2 separate regions of the Homo sapiens genome follow, and region 1 is linked to region 2. The links are contacts of gene promoters, found by promoter capture Hi-C in human tissues and cell types (Jung and others, 2019). All regions are on one chromosome and are shown on one strand. Each heading gives the region's core, a stretch centred on a gene start or on the middle of the fragment in contact. The rest is flanking DNA. Distances are from core to core; before and after follow the strand shown. Region 1 holds the start of LOC105377376 (a long non-coding RNA gene). Region 2 holds the start of ARSJ (arylsulfatase family member J).

Region 1 (3,981 bases), core at 808-3,307, 57 kb before region 2:
GCCCACATGATGTAAAAAGTACCCATTCTGTATGAAGAGGTTCAAATGACCAGCTCTAAACGAAGAGTTAGAGGGATGGAAGAGTTGATCCCAAATACAGGAATTAAAAATTGGGGCTAGAAGTTCAACTTAGTTTCCAGTTACATGTAAAAATGGAGTCAGTAAATGTAGCCCAAGACTCATGTTTGAAATAAATTTGTAAAATGCCATAAGCTTCATAATTTTACCACTTTTGATCACTTCCCTCTAAAGACTAGTAGTAATGTACTAAAATTGTGAAAGGCTTATATTTTGGCTATTTTTATTAAAAAACCTCCCACCTTACCCACCATACCCTCCATCCTTCTTCATTTTGCTTGTGCTCCATCTGGGAGACTGATCTGTATGGTATGCACCAATAGCTGCCACACCCGCTGGCTTCTGGTTGGTTTGGCCAATGAGAAGCACAAGCAGATGTTGTGATGATAGAAAAGGATGAGTTTAGGGTATTTATGGATTCCCTTAGGACCCTCCCTGCTGGGTTGCTGGGAGTTGGTTTCATCTTTCCTGAAGGTCATAACTTCTGCCAGGTGGCCCTCTCCATAAAGCCATTCTCCTTGGTTTTAGTAAAGCTTCTCCTCTTCTTACCCCTTCTCCTTTACCCCCTGAAAAATATAGCAACCCAAAAATGACACCACATGCCTGGGTGAATTGAAAAAATTAGTTCCACAACAAACAATCTTTTAAATATAGGGGAAGTTGATTCATACCACGTGTTCATCTAAATAGCTTGTTTGGCTGGTGCATAAGTTTGATAGGTCTTGGATAATGACTGAGTTATGTTTTAACCTGCAGCTCCAGATGAGGAAAAATCACTACAGTCTTCAGCAGCTAGAATACAGCTGTTGACTTAGCTGATTAAAAATCAGTCAAGGAAAATTAGAAGCAGTTTCATAGATACAAAAGTATATCTTTACCACATTGCTTCAGGACAAAGTCAACTCTCCTGCCCAGTGTCATAATTTAGTCCTTTATAGTCTTTATATACCACAGAATATCACACTAGCTTGTTTATTATGCTGATGCTGTTATACTAATGAGTCTGGGGATCAGGACTAGTAAGACCCATGCACATAAGAGGATAGCAACTAAACCCTGTGAAGTTTCAGAGGTTTGCCACATTGGTATAGATTCTTAAGAATCCAGTGATTTGGGAAATATCAGAATATTGCTTTGAAAGTGAGATATCTGCTCACCTACCACAAAGAAAGGCAGATTGCTTGGAGGGCATTTTTGAATTTTGGAGCAAAATATAGCAGGTTTAAATTGTCAGTGTGGAATGGGTCCCACATCAAGAAAAGGCTTTGCAGCAAGTCCAGGCTGTAATAAAAACCCTGCAGACACTTGGACATTTTAACCCAGAAAAGCCTGTGGAGGTAGAAGTTCTGCTATATAAAGAACGGCACAGGGAGGAGGTCTGGCAGGCTGGAGGAGAGGGAGGTGCAGGTTCCTATTCCCTCAGCTACCTTCCGCCTGTTTTGGCTATCTCTACTGAAAGATCCTGTTCTTCTCAGGCATCTTTCCCCACAGAGCCTCTCTCCACCTTCTTGTAACTGTTCGTTTCCTTGCCTCTTTAGGCCTAGGAATGACAGTGGCTCCCGGCTGTGGCCAAGCCCATAGGACTGCACAAGTATTTTATGATGTTCCTCTACCCTTTTGTAGTCGCTTTATTAACCTCTTCTGTTTCAAAGTGACATCTCTTTCCTGTGCCTGCTTGTTTTCAGCAAGAAAATAGAGAATCTGATGAAATAGGATCCCATTCTACAGAACAGAAAAGAAGCCTGTGGATATTTAGTGGTAGCACAATCACAGGAAGGTAAAATAGAGCTGTAAAGATAAATTGAGATATTAACTGTGAAACTCATTGTGAAACCTGGCACTTCCTAGGTTTTCAATTTATGTCATTCCTTCTTCCTTGGCCTCGCCTCTCCCTTCTATATTACTTCGGTTGCCATAGCAACTGTTCTTCAGTGGCACCTAGTTTTTGAATGATGTACTTTACACAGCGTTAATCATTTTCATAGCACCTCTGGTGAGGGCACTGTGCTTCCGTCACCAACCACACTCTTTTCTGATGGTCTTTCTCTTTGTTCCCTGAGATATTTCTTCCAAACCACCATATTAAGGTAGGCTGATTAGAGAATCTCTTCCAATGTTTATGGCTATTATAGTAATGCTTTAATGTTCTGGGTCGTATCCTATATTCTTTTTAAGATTTAACCCATCTGCTTATGATTGATCAGTCTTTCACATGTAGGCACACTCAAATATGGGATAGTTATGTTTCCTTATAATTATGTGACAACTCCCCTCCACTCCACTTTTTTGCCCCTATTGGAAATTCCTTAGAATTAAACTTCTGTTATAGACTATTCTTTTTAAAAGGGTGGCAAATTTGCCAGACTCTCATAAATTCAACAAGTATTTATTGTATGCCTATTTGATGCTGGGAATATAATAGTGAGTATATTTCTACCTTTAAGGAATTTGTAGTCCAATTAAGAGCTCCCAGATTGTCTTCTCTCCAGAATAGAAATCCCTTCTTTAAGACACGGCATCCTATTTGTCTAAAGGTGGGTAAAGTTCCTAACTCTCCATCCCACCATGGAAAGCATTATTATTATATCAACTCAGACCTGAGATAAGAAGGCCTGCATTCAAATCGTGACTCCTCAAATCTTCAGCTAGCCACTTACTAGCTGGGGGACTTTTTACTGGATTACTTAACCTTTCCTCACAGAGTTGTTTTGAGATTTAAATGTAATAATCTGTGTAAATCACCTAGTATAATACCTGGAGCATTCATCATATGATTACCACTCATTAAACAATCACTTAAAAAGAAGTCTCCTAGAGAAATACATTACGGGTGAGTAGAGGGTTCCAGGCAGAGACATGGATCATGGTAGTCTCCAAGCATAGATTTTTCATAACTCAACCAATGTTCTCAGTTCTGTATTTTAAGTAGACTTATCTATGTGTTGCATTTTTAAGACTTCCTTTAAATGCCAGATATTTCATTTTCAATTCAAAAATATGATTTAGGCATCAGCCAAGAAATTACTTGCCTGCCACCATGCATGCAGAAATCAGATGCTTGTAGTAAAAATATTTTCATTTATTCAAGCTTCCAACCATGTCTCTTTTTCTTACAACTTTCAACCCAGATGGTTTACTAAGCTTGCCTTGTTTTTTATATATTATCTAATGGAGTAATGCTAAATGAAGTACTCTACTTACTGAAGTACTAATGAAGTAGCTTTTTGATAAGTTACTACCACTGATTTTATAAAAGTTAATGCACATTTTTCCTTCTTCCTGTGATTCTTAAATAGTAAAAAACCTTGATAATGAGAAAAAATTAGCCCATTTAGTAATTGCACTTCATACTATTTTTATACTAAAACAAGTACCACTCTTTTTGTATTTCTCAGTGGAGCCAACTATCAGGTAAGTAGAGACTCAAGTCAAGATTGATGTGATCCACCCGTGCCATCTCCCTTGCAATTCTTTCCAGTGTCACACCAAGATACTGTTTGAAGAAACAATACTTTGGGATCTGTAGACATGATGCTTCTGCCAATATTGTCATTGGGTATATTTATGACCTCGGGCAAGTAATTTCACTTCACTTCATATCTGTAGTTCGAAGATGGAGGGACTCATCCATTGTGACTCTTCCCTTTCTAGAAACCTACATCATGTACCAGACCTTTCTCCTGTGTTTCTCTGGGTAGGTGTGAAGCACGCCTATTCATGCCTACCATGCCTATGCCCAAGCCACAGAACATTGACTTGATTTATGTTGACCAAAAAAAGTAAGATTATTTCAGACATGAGAAAAATTTAAAAATAATAAATAACACTGCTCTTCAAATGCACTGAATGATTAGTTAAGAATATTATTTTTGTTTCGGTGACAATAGTCATGAAATAACAGAC
Region 2 (4,306 bases), core at 394-2,893:
TCCATACATTTTGATTGTTTTTTATTATTATTGCTTGGAACCTCAACTGAAAATGTGTCTCCTTCTTGCACAGAACATGGATACTTCTTGTGCTATGTCACAAGAAGTCACTATCTCCCCAAATAAAAGGCTAGATTGACCAGAATGTTTGCATCTTTCCCATTCAAGCACCTGGCTAGGCCCATTAAGCCTAGGGCCCTACCTCTCAATGCTTTTCAATCCCCTGACACTCAGTACTCTCATTACATATTTGGTGACTTAATTTACAGAATTGCTAAACTCACATTTCTGAACATGGCTTCTAAAACTGACTATCTCTCCCCAGCTTAGCCAGAAGGGCTGCAAGGAAGAACAGAGACCAGAAGGCCTACAGCAGCTAGCAAGGTTAACTTCATGGAGCACCATCGTGCCTTTCAAAGTTCCCATTTCACAAAGTTTTGCCTGGGAACTCAGCAGGAACTTTAGCAACAGGAGAGAATTAGAAATAAATGGCTAAATGAAACCTAGATTTATGTTTCAGTCAATTGAGAGAATCTGACATGTTATGTGCCAGCCCACAGTAGGTATTCAGTAAGTAACTGTTGAATAAATTTGGTGGTAGAAAAAAATATCTCAGTGGCTCTTGGCATTCATTGCCTCTTCTATAGAGACTATACTATACATCCCTCTGCTGCCTTTGAGCAGGACTTTAAAACTCTATGACTCTAGTAAAATCAAGAGTATTTTCACAACCAAGATAAGTTTTTACAATGGTTTTCCTCCACATGGTAAAAAAGAAAGAAGGAAAAAAAATGATGAAGCTCCCTGAATTACTGGATGGGAAACACTGGCTTCTTTAATGCAGGAATGCAGACTGGCTTCGGGGTTCTTGAAGGAGAAATGCATAACTCTTCCTCTCCAGGCTTTTGGCTGGAGACACCCTGTGGGTAAGTTAGGGGAGAGGTAAGAGGGAGCGGGCAATTCCAGTATTTTCACATAGGGAAAGGGTAACGAAGAATCAGGCTGTAAAAGCCAGCTATTGGGAGAGGAAATAAAACTTAAAAATTTGTCATCGTTACTGAAAAAAAAAAAAAAAAAGGTAGGGACAAAAGGAATAGGAAAATGATGGGGGTGGGGGGACTAGTAAAGGAAAACCTGCAAAGGAAGTTGGAAAGAGGAAAGAGTGTCATACGCATTTTGTTTTTATTCCTGCTCCTTCTCTCTCACTCCCTCCAGAAGCTAGAAAAAGTTTGCAAGCGCAACTTTAGGGATGGGAGACGGGGCTCTTCACCAACAGCCCCACGAAAAGAAGTGCCCGCTTTACCCTTCCCCATTCGCGCCGCCGTCCTTTCCCTCTAGCGGGGTGATGGGCAGGAGGCGACACTCTTGGGACGCGGTAGCCCAGGCGGATCCCCCGGAATCCCGCTGGGCTGGAGCAGCACGCAGCTCTCTCTCTGGCAAAGCCTCCTCTGCCTTGGCCATCCACCTCCCGGAAAAGAAAAAGGAAAGATCGAGCCTCTAAACAGTCCTTTTCCCCCACCCCCTCTTCCCGGGGGAGCTCAGGAAGAAAGTACCGTTCTGTGATTCACTGGAGAGAAAAGAGGGAGGAGGCAAAAGAACTCGGAGTGCCAAAGCTAAATAAGTTAGCTGAGAAAACGCACGCAGTTTGCAGCGCCTGCGCCGGGTGCGCCAACTACGCAAAGACCAAGCGGGCTCCGCGCGGACCGGCCGCGGGGCTAGGGACCCGGCTTTGGCCTTCAGGCTCCCTAGCAGCGGGGAAAAGGAATTGCTGCCCGGAGTTTCTGCGGAGGTGGAGGGAGATCAGGAAACGGCTTCTTCCTCACTTCGCCGCCTGGTGAGTGTCGGGGAGATTGGCAAACGCCTAGGAAAGGACTGGGGAAAATAGCCCTGGGAAAGTGGAGAAGGTGATCAGGAGGCCGGTCCACTACGGCAGTTTATCTGTCTGATCAGAGCCAGACGCGACGCGTCCACTTCGCAGTTCTTTCCAGGTGTGGGGACCGCAGGACAGACGGCCGATCCCGCCGCCCTCCGTACCAGCACTCCCAGGAGAGTCAGCCTCGCTCCCCAACGTCGAGGGCGCTCTGGCCACGAAAAGTTCCTGTCCACTGTGATTCTCAATTCCTTGCTTGGTTTTTTTCTCCAGAGAACTTTTGGGTGGAGATATTAACTTTTTTCTTTTTTTTTTCCTTGGTGGAAGCTGCTCTAGGGAGGGGGGAGGAGGAGGAGAAAGTGAAATGTGCTGGAGAAGAGCGAGCCCTCCTTGTTCTTCCGGAGTCCCATCCATTAAGCCATCACTTCTGGAAGATTAAAGTTGTCGGACATGGTGACAGCTGAGAGGAGAGGAGGATTTCTTGCCAGGTGGAGAGTCTTCACCGTCTGTTGGGTGCATGTGTGCGCCCGCAGCGGCGCGGGGCGCGTGGTTCTCCGCGTGGAGTCTCACCTGGGACCTGAGTGAATGGCTCCCAGGGGCTGTGCGGGGCATCCGCCTCCGCCTTCTCCACAGGCCTGTGTCTGTCCTGGAAAGATGCTAGCAATGGGGGCGCTGGCAGGATTCTGGATCCTCTGCCTCCTCACTTATGGTTACCTGTCCTGGGGCCAGGCCTTAGAAGAGGAGGAAGAAGGGGCCTTACTAGCTCAAGCTGGAGAGAAACTAGAGCCCAGCACAACTTCCACCTCCCAGCCCCATCTCATTTTCATCCTAGCGGATGATCAGGGATTTAGAGATGTGGGTTACCACGGATCTGAGATTAAAACACCTACTCTTGACAAGCTCGCTGCCGAAGGAGTTAAACTGGAGAACTACTATGTCCAGCCTATTTGCACACCATCCAGGAGTCAGTTTATTACTGGAAAGTAAGTGTTCCTACTTCTTATATTTATTCCTTGGAGAAATCTTAAGCATTTAATGAAGATCCAGCTCCAAATTTAAGGGAGTAACAGAAAGTATGGGGAACAACTGAATGAATGAAGAATGAATGAATGATGTATGGTATTGGGGTACCGTGTTAAAATGGATACAATGTTAATGATCTTAATTTTCTAGTCACTAGTGTAGTCTAGTTTTCCTTTTTACAGAGCCAATTATAAGTTTCTAAATGAGATGAGAACGTATAAATACCCACAAACCAGAGATTTCCAGAAATGGTCTCCTGTTTCAAATCTATTCTACTTTTGAGCATGCTCAGATTTTGTTTCAGATGTCATACTAGAATTCACACTCACCATCACTGATAAGAAAGATCAAAAATTTTTTTTACTCTTGGTGCATTCTTAAATCTAGAATTATCAGAGAAAATGAACCAACGAAACAGATATAGAGTAATGTAAAATATGACCAGTTTATGTATGACTCTGCTTCGGTCTTTGATGGGTCATTTTCTCTTATGAGACCCCCTAATGAAGGCCATATTTAATTAGCAAAGCAGTTCTCAAAATGCAAGGAAATACAATGGTAAGTGCTCAAGAGGAGTCAAACTTCATCTGCAGTTTTCTGTTGCTCTTCACAGGTCTGGAATTTTCTGACTAACCAACAGAAATCAGACTATTTGGATGCTTAAGTAAAGTGCTTTTCATATTGTTGCTGCTTTGCTAAGTAGCTAAATCTTCTACTTAAATTGTTCAAACATTTTCATATTTTTACTCTATCCTATCAGAACACAGGCTACTGTAATTGATTTGGATGTACAAATTCAGCCTGTGGAACGAAGATAAACTAGGAAGGGCAGGGGTTAAGCTGGACAGAGGTAGAAGAAAATCCTTAGCCATTTCAATCTATGTCTTGTGATTTCAGTTGCAGGACAGGGAACCCTTGCTTCTGTGAAGTTGTTCTTGGAATTGGATCCTATAAAAGTAGCCAGTATCCATTGGAAAAATAAAGACTATTTTGTAAGAATCTCTGTCTCGCAGAGACTTTTGCTTACAGCATGATTTCCACTGCTTAGCAAACTGTCAGAACTTAGCATCATTGCCAGAAAAGAAAAAAATTATTGTCCTTCCCTCTCCTGAGAATGAGAAAAGTCTCACTGTACTTCAGGGTCATTTTAAAGGTTAACTGTGGCATCAGAAAATCAAGGGTATTTGATATTTATAAAGGAGTAGATTATTGGCTGGAAAATAACTAGTCCATCTGGTGGCCTAGAGGTCAAGTTCTTCATGTCTGATTCCAAACACCCTTATATATGGCTCATGAAATAAATGTCTCACAAAGCCTCACTGGACCTCTTCAACTAACTTATAGAATTTAGATTTACACAGATAGCCAACTGTGGTTGAAAATAAGTAACTGAACTATATGAATTTATTTTTC

Evidence for each region. Contacts are between HindIII fragments. The study calls those that stand out against the background at their distance.
Region 1: a contact is called between a fragment that was not itself captured here and the fragment with the promoter of ARSJ in region 2, in 1 of the 25 tissues and cell types used here (H1 embryonic stem cells).

What each region holds. Positions count from the first base shown.
Region 1 is chr4:114,034,660-114,038,640 of GRCh38, reverse strand. It overlaps LOC105377376 (a long non-coding RNA gene), which reads left to right and starts at 2,090. Exons shown (of 3, transcript XR_939088.2): 1 at 2,090-2,165. The HindIII fragment of the contact is 3,289 bases long and covers 413-3,701 here.
Region 2 is chr4:113,976,984-113,981,289 of GRCh38, reverse strand. ARSJ (arylsulfatase family member J) reads left to right here and starts at 1,643. Exons shown (of 2, transcript NM_024590.4): 1 at 1,643-2,853. The coding sequence starts at 2,456. LOC107986305 (a long non-coding RNA gene) reads right to left here and starts at 1,477. Exons shown (of 2, transcript XR_001741794.2): 1 at 1,304-1,477; 2 at 1-920. LOC124900762 (a long non-coding RNA gene) reads left to right here. Exons shown (of 3, transcript XR_007058237.1): 3 at 326-395. The HindIII fragment of the contact is 13,267 bases long and covers 1-4,306 here.